Linked DNA regions of Homo sapiens: regions 2, 3 and 4 are each linked to region 1. The links are contacts of gene promoters, found by promoter capture Hi-C in blood cells and fetal thymus (Javierre and others, 2016). All regions are on one chromosome and are shown on one strand. The core of a region is centred on a gene start or on the middle of the fragment in contact, and the rest is flanking DNA. Distances in the headings are between cores, read along the strand shown.

Region 1 (3,319 bases), core at 564-3,063:
AAGTGTTGAGGCGAACACTTTGCCCATGTGGTATTCTTACTGAGATGTTATGAAATGCATAACATCAATTTAACCATGAGAAAACATCAGACAAACTCAAATTGAGATACATTCCACAAAGTAACAGACTAGTACTTTTCAAAAAAGTATCAAGGTAATGAAAGATAGGAAGACGGAGCAACTGTCACAGAATGGAGATTAAGGAAAAAGAATAACTAAATGCATTGTAGAATCCCCATTGGATCCTGGAACAGAATAAGGACATTAGTGAAAGGGCTGGCAAATTGTAAATAAAGTCTGTAGTTAACAGCATTGTAGCAATGTTAATTTCTTGTTTTTGATCACTGTACCCTGATTATGTAAGATGCTAACACAGGGGGAAACAGGATGTAGGGAACTCTCTACTGTCTTTCTAACTCTTCTGTATGTCTAAAATTATTCCAAGTTTTAAAAAGCTCAATCCCAGTTACCAAGCCTACTAGGTCAACTAACACATTTTTTATTTATGCAGTTCTTTTTTATACCCTCTCTCTCTCCTACAACCTATTATCAATTTTTTCTGAGTTGCTACTCTTTCCTACTTTTTCCCAAAGAGGCTTCCATGTGCTTACATTTTAAGACTTCTTAAAATAACCTTATTTCCTCCCAACAGAGAGCTACTCTCCTTCCTGTACGGCCACAAAATGACCTACCATAAAAGATGTAAAATACTTTAATACAGTATCTTATAGCTTCATAACAATTAGCAATACACAAGTGCTTGTAAATACATTTACATACGTAAATTTTGAGATGCATAAACACTTATTATTTTATAGATGAGAAAATAAGACTAGAAAAATTATGTGATCTGACACTTAAAATGTCAGAGACTGAATCTGAATCCAGTTCTTCAGGCTCCAAAACCAAATTACCTTATTAAAATAAAGTGCTCTGTGTCTGAAAAGCTTCAACTTCCCTGCTTCAGGCAAGCGAATTACATCAAATACACCATGATTTTCAAGAAAGTTCTAAATTTCCCGATTGTTCTAAATGTCGCTCTTAAAAGCTTCAATAATTATACAAAAAAGAATTCTGGAAGTCAGTGCAAAGTTTGTGTTCACCCTAACCATTCTTTTGATTTTTTTTTACAAAGCCGACTTCAGTCATCTCCCCTTCAACTATTTAGGCCGAAGAACCGCTTACCTCTATTTTCATATCAGCTCCAACTCATGCTTTCAAATATCTGAGCTGTCATTCCAATCTCTAATTCCATTCATTTATTTATATTTGCAAATGAAAACTAGGGGCAATCCTGCAGGGCCCCGAGCCCCACGAAATACTCTGAATATCTTTTTTCCTTTACTCAAAAAAAAAAAAAAAAAGTCAAACGACTTATTGCTAATGCATGTGTCTGTTTAATATTTAGCGCAATGGTGCAGGGCGAAGTAACAATGACTTGAGACCGGAGGAAACAACTTTCGCCTGACTTAACTGCCACCAGCATTTTTCTCCTTCACAGTTTGTAATCTCCAACCTTTTGTAATCTTTTTCATGTTACCTGATTTCTGTATCAGCCAAGTGAGAAAATTATTTAAACCCAACCAAAAGCGCTGAGATTAAATAATAAATTACGGAAATAAGCCTTTAAATTTGAAAACTAATAAGAGAACCATTAATTTATTAATGGGCGCTTACTAGGTGCAAAGGCACTTAAAAGGACAAAAAGCTCCTGAGGTTTTTGAGCACTTAACGACGACTTGCTCATTTTTGTGACCTCCTACCCTCACCCTTTGAGCACCTGGCATCTGCAGGAGCTCAAAAGTTGAACTGAATTGGGGACGCTGAAGTAACAGGATCTGCTCTAGTGAGAAACCCGTGGGAGAAACTTTGGAAAGTGTTACCTGAACAGCATTACGCTATTTCAAACAGAACAGGTTGCTGCTCTGTTTAACCCCGCATGGGGGACTGGAACTAGAAACCTGGACACCGAGGAACCCCAAAGGTCTTGGGCAAAGAGAAGGGAGCGTCACTTGCCTCCCATTCTTGCAAGAAACGCTGTGCCTCGTCAGAACCAACGGTCTTATGTCTCCTAAATTCGTCTTTCACGTACTGGTCGCCCAGGGATTTGAGGTCCGGGGGCAGAACACGGTGCAGCTGCAAGACGCGCTTGTACAATGCCCGGACTCGAGAAACGTGCCGCCCCGGCATAGCGCCCCACGCCGACCGCCGACTGCGCCTGCGCAGAGGGACGGCGCGTTCCCGCACTTCTGCGAACTTGCGTATTAGTGAACCGGAAGGCAGACGAAAGAGGGCGCGCGACCTCTATCCGGTTTGGTCCCTTGCACAATCAGGTCCTCCCGGAAACCCAAGCTCCGCTGCGGGCGGAAAACGGGTCGGTCCTTCTCTAGGAGGGGCGTGGCCCTCGTGGAGTCGCGCCTGCGCCTCGTCGTGGCTTCTTCTGGCCTGCGTCCTGACGACACAGGCCTTGAAAGAGAGAGGTCTGTGGTGGGCCGTTGTCATTTCTCAGTCCCACTCCACTGTCTTTTTCATTCAACTTCGTTTCTGTCCTCCTACCAAAGGCCTGAGAAAAGCTTCGTTAAGATCGGGCTCCTCCGGGATTCCTTCCATGGTTCCCAACCCATTTGAGGCATTTAGAGTATTACTGCACCCTGCTTTAGGGATCAGAGTGAGATTAATCTCGCCATCCACTAGCTCACCAACCCACGCTCTTTGCACAGCGCTGTTCTCCCAATTTATACTCTGGGCATGGGCTCTTCCTTGCAAACAACCCAAGTGAGCCCAGAGCTGGCGGACTCCTTAGCCAAAGTCAAGTTGGCTGCTGAAGGATCCTTGGGAAGAGTTTTAAACGTATTGTTTCCAGGACCACGACCCTGGAGATTCTGGTTAAATAGTCTAGGATAATAAGAACGAGGAATCTAGAAATTTACAAAGCTCTATCTTTTGCGAAGGTAATACTGAGAGTAGAACTGGTTTCCAAAGCTGGCAGCTCCTTGTGTTGTCCTTTCCTGTCACACGTTTGGTTCTTCAGCAAATCCTGATGGCGTCACCAACAAAAATGCAGAAATCAACCATTTCGCCCCATGTACTCTACCACAATCTCTCTCCACTGGATATTGTGTTAGCTTCCATATCTGTGTTCAGCTTCTGGTCATGACCAACTTTGGTCATGCTCCAACATAATTTAAATTAAATTTGGCCTAAAATTTCCTCCCTACTCTGAGTTGCTATGTAGGGAACTGCAACCTAACTTAGTATGTAAATTAACTGCAACTGAGAGTATATTCTTGTGACAAGTAGCTGAGCTTCAGCCAATCAC
Region 2 (3,319 bases), core at 313-2,812, 1.8 Mb before region 1:
TGGGGATGATGGGAAACAGTGACAGAACATCAGGCATTAGATTCTCATAAGGAGCACGCAACCTTGATCCCTCACGTGAGCAGTTCACAGTAGGGTTTGCGCTCCTATGAGAATCTAATGCCCTGCTGATCTGCCAGGAGGTGGAGCTCAGCGTGGCTCACAGGCCCTGCTCACCTCCTGCTGTGCAGCCAGTTCCTAACAGGCTATGGACTGGTACTGGCGGCCAGGGGCTTGGAGACCCCTGCTTTAGACGCCTTGATGTCAATGCACTGGGTGGTGCAGTGATGGTCCATCCGTGCTCCACGGGCCAGAGAGGAGGTCAAAGGCCCTCACTGTGTGGGAGGATCCCTCGCCCAGGTAGCCGTAGCAAAGCGGAAGCATAGCTGGGACCAGAACCCACCGGGCTTCCAGCGTTTAAGGCCAGCCAGGCCCCTCCAGCTTCTAGGAGAGCCCAGCCCTGCTCCTCTAAGGCAAATGGCAGTAACTGTGTAGGCTGGTCACCCCTCACCGCAGTAGCCTGACTCCCACAAGGCCCTCAGTGACAAAGAAGTTGCCCTGGGCCCAGATACGAGCAGGAGCCCCATCTTAACAGCAGCTGTGAGAGGGTAAACCGGGGGATGACATCAAGCCCACGGCAGGGGCCGGGTGCTCAGGCCCCTCTATCAAGAAGGGGCAAGAGGCTGGGCACAGTGGCTTACACCTGTAATCCCAACATTTTGGGAGGCTGAGGCGAGAGGATCACTTGAGGCCAGGAGTTTGAGACCAACCTGGCCAACATGGTGAAACCCCGTCTCTACTAAAAATACAAAAATTAGCCAGGCCTGGTGGCGGGCACCTGTAATCCCATCTTACTAGGGAGGCTGAGGCAGGAGAATCGCTTGAACCCGGGAGGCGGAGGTTGCAGTGAGCCGAGATCGCGCCATTCTGGGACAGAGCGAGACTCTGTCTCAAGATTAAAAAAAAAAAAAAAAGAAAAGAGGAAGCAGCAGCAGCAGCAGCAGCAAGAGGAATTTCGAGGCCTTTCGCCCAACGCCTGGCGCACCTTAAGCTCTCAACAGTTCTTGAATGAGGAGTAGCATCTCGGAGCCACGAGCGTGCAGAGAGAAGGCACCTGGAGGAGAGCCCCAAGGGACCTGCAGGCGGCTTGCAGCGCAGCGCACGCCCCTGGGGACGCTGAGTCAGAGCCGGCGGCATCGGATCCAGGGCGGGGAGGGGCTCGGGGGAAGGGAAAAATGCGGGTGCGGGGGGCGTGGTTTCGGGTAGTGGAGGGGAAGGATGCGGCCGGGGGTGGATTTGGGGTGGGGAGGGATGCGGGGAGGAGCCAGGGCGCAGGAAGGGAGCTCTGGAACCCCTAGAGGGGAAGCAAGCTGGGAGGGGCGATCGTGGACTCCAGGAGGGCAGGGGGCGCGGCCGTGGGAAGAGACCCGGAGAGGGAGGACGCGGCCGTGGAGAGGGACGCGGGAGCAAGGGGCGGCGGGAGGAGGAGGAGGGCGCGCGGCGCGGCTGACGTGGGCCGGGGTCGCGCAGCGGGCTGTGGGCGGCGGCGGCGGCGCGCAGCGACAGAGCGTCCCCCGGCGAGGACGAGCGAGCACGGCGCCCGCACCTCCCCGCACCGCCCGCGCTGCGCGCCCGGAGGAGCGACCGCCGCAGTTCTCGAGCTCCAGCTGCATTCCCTCCGCGTCCGCCCCACGCTTCTCCCGCTCCGGGCCCCGCAATGGCCCAGGCAGTGTGGTCGCGCCTCGGCCGCATCCTCTGGCTTGCCTGCCTCCTGCCCTGGGCCCCGGCAGGGGTGGCCGCAGGTAAGGCGCTGGGCAATCCGGCCTCCCTGCAGCCGCAGCCCGCCCGGGGCCTGGAACCGTCTCAGCGGGCGAGTGGGCCCGGGAGCAGGGATTGCGGAGGTGGCACCGTGCGCCCTGCGCGCATCTCCCTCCTCGGCTGAGGCCACTGCAGCGCCCTTTCCCCTCTCCTTTCATCCTTGTTCCCCAAAGTCGCCTGGGCACTGGAGGGGGCTCCCCGCACCCCCTGGATTCCTGCTTCCACCCCCCCAGGCTGGCCCTGCCCTGGAAACCGCGCGGGGGTGGCCGGCGCATCCGTCGATGCCTGGGGACCATGCACCCGCTAAGGGAGGGGAGGACGAGGCAGGGAGGCGGGGATGCGCCAGGGTCCGTCATCGCGCCACAATTCCCCAGTCCCCCAGGGAGCACGGGATGGGCAACGTTTTTGCCTTAAAATGTCGCCTCATCTAGAGGGGTTTCCCACCGTGTTGGTGCTGGCTTTGGGGAGATGCGAATTTAGAGCCCAGGAGGCCAGGCTGCCATTTCCTCTCTGGTGGTGATTTCCAAAATGGACCCGGAGCTGACAGGTTCCTGGGGTGTGTGTGTGGGTGGGGGAGTGGGGGAAGCAGGGTTGTGTGTCTACTGCCCCCACTTCCCCACCGCCAGAAAGCCAGCACCCACCTCTCTGCCACATTTTGGGAACCATAAAAGGACCCAGATTTAAGACTATTCGAGGGACAGATGGGACGTGGGCAGCTAAGAAGGTTGAATACTATCCACCACTTTTCACCCCCTCCCCCCTCATAAAAGAGCGGTGGAGAGAGAGAGCAAGGGATCTAATGAAAATTTGTGAAAGAAAAACCATGAGGTCAAAGAAAACCTGCAACTCAGGGATGAATTAGACGAATTTTATGGGAATTGCACTTGGACAAGATTACCTATTTCCTCCTGGAAATACAGGAAAGGGGTCTCTTGTCCATCAGGTTGATTTGTGTCAGAGATTTTCAATGTGTCCTAAATTGCAAAAGAAAAAGAAAATAATAACAAAAGTGAATTAATTATTTGGAAATCATGTGTGGTTCCCATTCTAGCCAATTGCACCCTTGATGTGGTCAAAATCACAGTGGCTAAGAGTGGAGTTGGGAAACATCTTCTCCCTCACCCGTCGGGGAGACTTTTCTACCCTTCCCCTTTCTGGAGTCCATGAATCAGGGATTTGTAAGTCAGAAGTCCATGTACTGGACTATTAATTAATTCTGGGTTGTGTTATCCAGACTTTAGAGGTACTCTTTGGAAGTGTTTTGGGTAGTCTGCATATTCTGTGTGAAAGGACTGGTGTAGCCATTTTCTAGAATGTTCAGGGCTGCACATGCTGTGTTGCTGGAAAAGGTAGGTGTTTCTTCCATGGGCCAAGCTTTGGGGTGAGTGCCCCATCTCTTTTTGCTTTTGCCCCTTGAGCTCTGGGTGACTTGGGGGGCCCTTGGAGTCCCCTAAACCTCTGCCTTGGCTGCTCCATACCCCAACTCCATGTCACATGGACTCCC
Region 3 (3,319 bases), core at 579-3,078, 1.1 Mb before region 1:
ATCCTCCTTTTTTTTTTTTTTTTTTTTTTTTGAGACAGAGTTTTGCTCTGTTGCCCAGGCTGGAGTGTAGTGGCACAATCTCAGCTCACTGCAAGCTCCGCCTCCTGGGTTCACCTCATTATCCTGCCTCAGCCTCCCGAGTAGCTGGGACTACAGGCGCCCGCCACCACGCCCGGCTAATTTTTTGTGTTTTTAGTAGAGACGGTGTTTCACCATGTTAGCCAGGATGGTCTCATCTCCTGACCTCATGATCCACCCGCCTCGGCCTCCCAAAGGGCTGGGATTACAGGCGTGAACCACTGCGCCCGGCCCACTCATCGTCCTTCTGCTAATAGCACCCTGATCTTCCTCTGAGGAGCCACCCCCTGTGCCTGGCTGAGCCCTTATGCTTGAGGGGGGCTCTGCCCACATCTCCAGACCAAGTCCACAAATGCCAGTCCCTCAGGCCCAAGCTAAAGTCAGGGTCAGACACAGGACTCCACAGAGCCATCCGGGGTGAACAAGAGGCTTCTGGGGGCGTTTTCTTCCACTGGAGCTGGCCTGTGTGGGGCTTCCCCAAACATGAAGGCCCAGGAAAAGCCTGTGTGCAACCCCAGAAATGAGACAGAACTAGAGGGGGAGCAGGAATAGGTCCCTAGGTCCAACCAGGTGACATTGGTTTAGCTCAATGTCGGGTAGTATCTAGCCTTCCATCAGATGCCCTTTTTTTTCTTTTTTGAGAAGGAGTTTTGCTCTTGTCGCCCAGGCTGTAGTGCGGTGGCACAGTGGCACGATCTCAGCTCACTGCAACCTCCACCTCCCCAGTTCAAGCGATTTTCCTGCCTCAGTCTCCCGAGTAGCTGAGATTACAGGCATGCGCCACCACCCCTGGCTAATTTTGCATTTTTACTAGAGACGGGGTTTCACCATCTTGGCCAGGCTGGTCTCAAACCCCTGACCTCAAGTGATCCGCCCGCCTTGGCCTCCCAAAGTGCTGGGATTACAGGTATGAACCGCCGCACCTGGCCGACATCTTTCTTTTTTCTCCTTTCTCCATCCTAACCTTGCCAGTTTTCTGCCAGGCGGGATACAGTGTTTTCAAATCCCAGTTCCATCGCTTACAACGTGAGTCGCTCCATCTCTGAGCCCGTGTTCGCATTTGTAAAATGGGAATGACGCCGCCAGCTCTTTGGGTTGCTGGGAGGATGAAATGAGAAGACCCAAGTAAAGCACTTACGTCAGTGCCCGCCACCCCGGGAGGACTCGCATATTACTATTAATATATTAGGCCAGCTTACACTGGGTTTTGTCACTGACAATAGAGTTTGAGCAATCCAGGGCCTGTTACTGACACCACACCATGCTATAGTCACAAAATCACATATGCTTCCAGGACTCCTCCTCGAAAGAGTAAAGCTTTAAGTGTAGTGTGTGCTCAAGGGCTACGTTTCAGTTCGATGGATACCAGGAAGACACCTGTTCCCTGCGTCCTCTCCACGCCCCAGGCCGGGCGCCCACACCCTGCTCCTCCTGACGCCGCACAGCCACGCACCCAGGTACCCTCTCCGCCACCCCTTCTCCTCGCCTGCAGGCGGTGTCCACACCGCCCTCTCCGCTCCTGCAGACCGGGTCCTGGAGGGCGGCCGGGCGGTCCACGGGCCGGTGTCGCGCCGCCAGAGAGAACGCGGCAACTCGCTTCAGCCGACTCTGGACTCCTGACCTGGCGCGACCCCGGAAGTGGGCGGGCGCGCGACCTCGAAGCCAGCACCGACGCGGCGCACCGCAGCCAATCGCACGTCCCAGGTCGCAGCGTCCTGGCGAGGCTGGCCAATGGGCACGGGGCCTGATGCCGCTTCCGGCCCACCCTCTTGCCCGGTCCCCGGGAGGGCCGGTCCGCTCCTCCCGGACGCCGAGGACCTACCACCGCGACTTCGCCCCGCCCGGCGCGGGCCCAGGTGAGTGCAGAGTGGCGCCCCAGCTGCAGCGGCGGCCAGGGCCGTGGGAAAGAATGGGGCGATGAAGGGCTGGGCACGCCGCCTTCCCCACCACCCCCAGGCTGTTTGCTCGCGGGGAGGGAGGAAGGAGGGACCGCACTTGTCATCTCGCCTGCACACCTGGAAGGTGCCGCCCCCGTCCCCTGCCCTGGAACGCCCACAGGCTAGCGAAGTTGCCTGGTGCAGGTGACGCCCCCATTCCAGCCTTTGGACTGGAGCCATAGGAGAAGCGGATCGCGGGATCCTGGTTGTTTTCGAGAATCACGCAGCAAGGGGCCTGCCTATCCCTCTCCCTGGGTATTGATGGGAGCAAATCTGCTTGTCGTAAGATTAGCTTTGGCAGATGGTCAGGGCCCAGAGCTCCGACATATGCTACTGGTGGCAGTGCAGGGGCCCCACCTGTCACCCAAGTGCACAGCACTGGGCTGAACGCCAGGCTGACTCAGGACACCTCCTGCCCGGTGGGGCTGGGCGGACCCTATTCTTCAGGAAAGAATCAACTACCATGCAAGTTCTGCTGCTTTTTCCCACCTTTTAGGACCCTGATGTCGCTTTTGAACAGCCCCTGCACCTGGCAGCCAGCGAGCTACTGTAGTAGGCATTGCCGACTGTTTGCATACCGGATGGGAGTGACAGTGTAATAGAAAAACAAGCAAGAAACCTTTTAGGTAGGACTCCTAAGGCTCAGAGGAAGTAAGTGCTTGCGGAGCGTTCTTTGTACTGTGTCTTTTCCTCTACCACATCTCTGTCCCCGCCTCTCTTGGGTGCTTTTTTTGGTCTCTGAAAGGATCTGTGAATAAACTGAGACAGAAAGGCAGATGGCTTTGAGGGTGGCGAGCAGACCTTCTTCGTGGAAAGACTGAAGGTTCAACTCAAATTCATCTTGTAGAAATTCTTGGTGAATTCGAGGCTGCTGATTTGGAAGATTTTCCTCCATCCCTCTAACCCTACAAAACAAACAAGTCCCAGGATCCCTGAATCATGGGGCTTCATGTTCCAACCCCCCTTTCAAGAGTCCTCTGACCCAGTGACCCTGTGTAAGTTGCCTGATCAGCTCACAGCCAGAAAGTGGCCCATGAGGAGCTAGGGGGAGCCTCTTGGCAGAGGCAGAAAGAAAGTGTGGCTGACCAAGGATGGTTACCGGATGTCAACTGTAGCTAGGAAGTGACGACAGGTGCCTGGGTCTCTACTCTGAAGGGAGTTTGTAAATACAGCAACCCCCCACCCCTCCCTTTCACTGTAGCAGAGTCTTCTCCCATTAACTGCCCAGAAGATTCAATGATGTCTATGAGGAAATTAGTGCTTAGTCATTTATTTGAAGGAAAGTCAAAATCTCCTTTCATTGA
Region 4 (3,319 bases), core at 490-2,989, 1.1 Mb before region 1:
GGGCTGAGACTGCCTGGCTCAATGAAAAATCAGGATCCAACTGGGCCCTACCTAGAGGTTTGGGCCTCACGCCGCTGTCCAGGGCCACAGCCGCAACTAGGCCACTCGCTGGTCCCCAGCGGGGCAGGAAAAATTGCTCCAGGGAAGTGGCTGAATGTTCGGGGGAAAATGGAACCGCTGAGGCCGTGTCCTTGTGGGGTGTCACCGCCCATCTGGGGCTCGTGGCTTGGAGGGACTGGGGCTGGGAGGAGCAGGCCAGGCAGCTGCGGCCACCGCCACCCCCACCCAGGACTGGGCGCTAGGTGCCCTCTCGGAAGCTGTGGATCTGCGTGGAGTACCTCTGCAGGTGGCCCTGGGGCTGGGCCTCCGTGGCCCCCAACGCACCCCCAGCCACCTGCTGCTGCTGCTGGTAGTGCTGGTAGAGCTTGGGGCCCGGCCCCTCCAGGCCTGGGAGGCGGCTGCTGGACATGGTCAGGATGGTGGCCGTCAGCGATTTGATGTAGTTCTTGGCCAGCGTGAGCGTCTCGATCTTGGAGAGCTTCTTGTCCGCGCGCACGTGGGGGATGACTTCACGCAGGGCCTGGAAGGCGTTATTTAGCTTGTGCATCCGCTGCCGCTCCCTCTCGTTGCTCTCCAGCCGCCGCTGGATGCTGCTGTCACGACGGCCACCGGGCCCGGAGGGTCCTGGCCGCCTGCGCCTGCCCTCGCCCGGAGCCCTTGCTGCGGCCCGGGCCGGCCGGCTCCGCAGACCCTTGGCCGGCTCTGGCCCCGGGTTCGGCAGGGACCCGTCGGGCGTCCCCTCCCCGGGGGTGGCCTCTGTGTCCTGCACCGGGGCCCGGCGCCGTGGGGGCCGGTTCTTGGTCTTCATGGCCCTGGACTGGCTGTCCTAGGAGGTGGCGGCAGGAAGGTGAGGCCCTTGGAGCTGAAATCCAGAACACAGGACACTCTGTGGTCACCCCACATGGGCAGGGGACCCGCTGGGGTGCCGTCCCTGGCAGCCTCCTCCTTGCTGACAGCAATGGTACCAGGGGCAGGGGTTGGCGCTCTGCGACTGGAGGTCCTTCTGTTCACACGCTTAGCCCTGGGCTGACCCCACACACACCCACGCCCTTGCTTTACCTCAAACAGACCTCTGGAATCTGTCCCTGTCCCTGCGTCCCCCTTCCCCCAGGATGACTCATCCTGACCCCTAGATCTTCCTCTGGCTCATGCCCCTCACTGCCCCCAGAGTGCCTCCTGAGCTCGGTGACCTTTGACACTTTGCCTAGAATGCGTCCCCCACCCTAGCTTAGGGGGCGCCTCTGCCGGAGGCGGCACTGACTTCATCCCGTGGGCGGGCAGTGACTCCAGCCACCAGGCTCTCACTGTCCTGCCCCGCTGGACGTGACACGTGCAGGGACAGCACTGGGGCCAGAACCGCTGCGGACATGGGACAGCACTGGGGCCAGAACCGCTGCGGACATGGGGCAGCCGTGGAGGTCAGAGGTCGGCAATGGCCAGGGCCTGGCGGCAGCCCCCAATCCCACCACGTGGATGGGCCCCGTGGAGCCTCCAGACAGACCAGAAGTCCCCCACCCGGGTTTCCCCACAGCCCCCACAACCCCCACAACCCCACCGCCAGGTCCTGCCCCTGGGTCCCCTCCCCGCGGCCCCACCCGAGTTCCCAGCTCCCGGGTTACCTGGGGATCCGCGGCCACACGCGCCGAGGCTGCCCACGGGGGACAAGGACACGTCGCTTTAGCCGCCCCGGGAGGGGCCGCGGACGCATGCAAATGAGCCCTCGGGGCGGGGCCGGGGCGGGGCCGGGGTCCGGGTGTCCCGGCGGGCGCTGGGCAGCAGTGGCGGCACCTGCGGGCGGGCGGGCGGGAGGCCGGCGCCTGGGGCTCCCGGACCAGGTGGCCGCGCAGCCCCGCCCCCAGCTTCCGCCCCGCCCCCAAGATAGAAAACCTCCCCCGCCCGCCTCTCCCCATCCTCCCCCTACTGCCCCCCACCCTCGTCCCCCAAGACAGCCACCCCCGCCCGCCTCTCCCCACCATCCCCCGACAGCCCCCGACCCTCGTTCCCCCAGACAGCCTCCCCCACACGCTTCTCCCCATCCTCCCCCGACAGCCCCCCAACCGCCCCGAGATAGCTTCCCCCCATTCGTCTCTCCCCATTCTCCCGCTACAGCCCCCCCAAGACAGCCTGCGTCCCCACCTCCCCTACTCCCGTCCCCCGACAGCCTCCCCACAACCTGCTTTTCCCCATCCTCCCCCTCAATTTCCACTCGCGCCTTTCCCACCCGCCTACCCCATATCCGTGCCCGAGACAGCCTCCCCCCGCCCGCTTTCCCCGACCCTCCCCCTGACACAGCACCCCCGCATCCATGCCTCCCGCGATCCTCCTTGCCCGGCCTCTCCACTCGTGGCGGGGCCCGGGCCCATTCCGCCAATGGGAAACAGGTCTCTGGGAGCCGCCGGAAGGAGGGGCAGCCCCGATTCAGGCTCAGCACACAGATCCCAAGTCCCAGGAGCACTCCGGGACGAGCCGCTCCGCGAAAACGCGGGCATCTCCCAGGGGATCCCCCGCCCCGCCGCCCGGGATGTTTAGGGGAACCTGGGGCTCCTACGGGCTGGGGGCGGAGCCCGAGTTGGGGTGGGGGTGGGGGGCTCCTTGGGCAGGTGTGCAGTCCTTGGGAACGCCTGTTTTGTTTGTTTGTTTGTTTTTGAGACGGAGTTTCGCTCTTGCTGCCCAGGCTGGCGTGCAATGGAGCGAGATGATCTCGGCTCACCGCAACCTCCGCCTCCCGGGTTCAAGCGATTCTCCTGCCTCAGCCTCCCGAGTAGCTGGGATTACAGGCATGCACCACCACGCCCAGCTAATTTTTGTATTTTTAGTAGAGACGGGGTTTCTCCACGTTGGCCAGGCTGGTCTTCAACTCCTGACCTCAAGTGATCCACCCGCCTCGGCATCCCAAAGTGCTGGGATTACATGCGTGAGCCACCACGCCCAGCCAAAGCAGCATCTTGCTCAGGGACTATTCGGGGCTGCTAGGGGTGCGGTGACTGCACGCTGCTGGGGGTGCGGTGAGTGTCACGCTGGCTGGCAGGCCTGGGCTCCACACTCATGGGTCTCGCCGCTCTGTCTCAGTACCTCTGGGTGGGAACTCAGAGGGGCCATAGTGGGGCGGGGGGCGGGCACAGAAAGGCTAGCTTGGAGCCAAGGTTAGTTAGTTCTTCTCTTGGCCTAAAGCTCATTTGAGGCTGGGCCAAATGAGGTCCTTGGAAATGAAAATGCTTCCGAAATTCATGAGTGCAAAGGCATGGTTTATAGACATGCT

Evidence for each region. The method cuts DNA at HindIII sites, captures the fragments that hold promoters and counts their contacts. A CHiCAGO score of 5 or more calls a contact.
Region 2: the fragment with the promoter of TMEM130 here is called in contact with a fragment that was not itself captured in region 1 in 7 of 17 cell types (activated CD4 T cells, naive B cells, naive CD8 T cells and 4 more); the score reaches 7.9 in activated CD4 T cells.
Region 3: the fragment with the promoter of TECPR1 here is called in contact with a fragment that was not itself captured in region 1 in 9 of 17 cell types (fetal thymus, naive CD4 T cells, monocytes and 6 more); the score reaches 14.0 in fetal thymus.
Region 4: the fragment with the promoter of BHLHA15 here is called in contact with a fragment that was not itself captured in region 1 in 3 of 17 cell types (total B cells, naive B cells and fetal thymus); the score reaches 9.4 in total B cells.

Annotation. Positions count from the first base shown.
Region 1 is chr7:97,116,595-97,119,913 of GRCh38, reverse strand. SDHAF3 (succinate dehydrogenase complex assembly factor 3) reads right to left here and starts at 2,216. Exons shown (of 2, transcript NM_020186.3): 1 at 2,017-2,216. The coding sequence starts at 2,190. RefSeq lists enhancers at 2,039-2,128, 2,479-2,558. The HindIII fragment of the contact is 1,525 bases long and covers 1,051-2,575 here.
Region 2 is chr7:98,868,257-98,871,575 of GRCh38, reverse strand. TMEM130 (transmembrane protein 130) reads left to right here and starts at 1,562. Exons shown (of 8, transcript NM_152913.3): 1 at 1,562-1,799. The coding sequence starts at 1,715. RefSeq lists enhancers at 1,492-2,077, 2,078-2,664. The HindIII fragment of the contact is 4,583 bases long and covers 1-3,191 here.
Region 3 is chr7:98,250,741-98,254,059 of GRCh38, reverse strand. TECPR1 (tectonin beta-propeller repeat containing 1) reads left to right here and starts at 1,828. Exons shown (of 26, transcript NM_015395.3): 1 at 1,828-1,934; 2 at 2,512-2,666. LOC124901706 (a long non-coding RNA gene) reads right to left here and starts at 1,701. Exons shown (of 2, transcript XR_007060448.1): 1 at 1,532-1,701; 2 at 1-1,176. RefSeq lists silencers at 1,542-1,641, 1,732-2,121 and an enhancer at 1,438-2,181. The HindIII fragment of the contact is 5,193 bases long and covers 1,398-3,319 here.
Region 4 is chr7:98,209,859-98,213,177 of GRCh38, reverse strand. BHLHA15 (basic helix-loop-helix family member a15) reads right to left here and starts at 1,739. Exons shown (of 2, transcript NM_177455.4): 1 at 1,680-1,739; 2 at 1-922. The coding sequence starts at 868. The coding sequence ends at 299. RefSeq lists a silencer at 1,678-1,867. The HindIII fragment of the contact is 21,052 bases long and covers 1-3,319 here.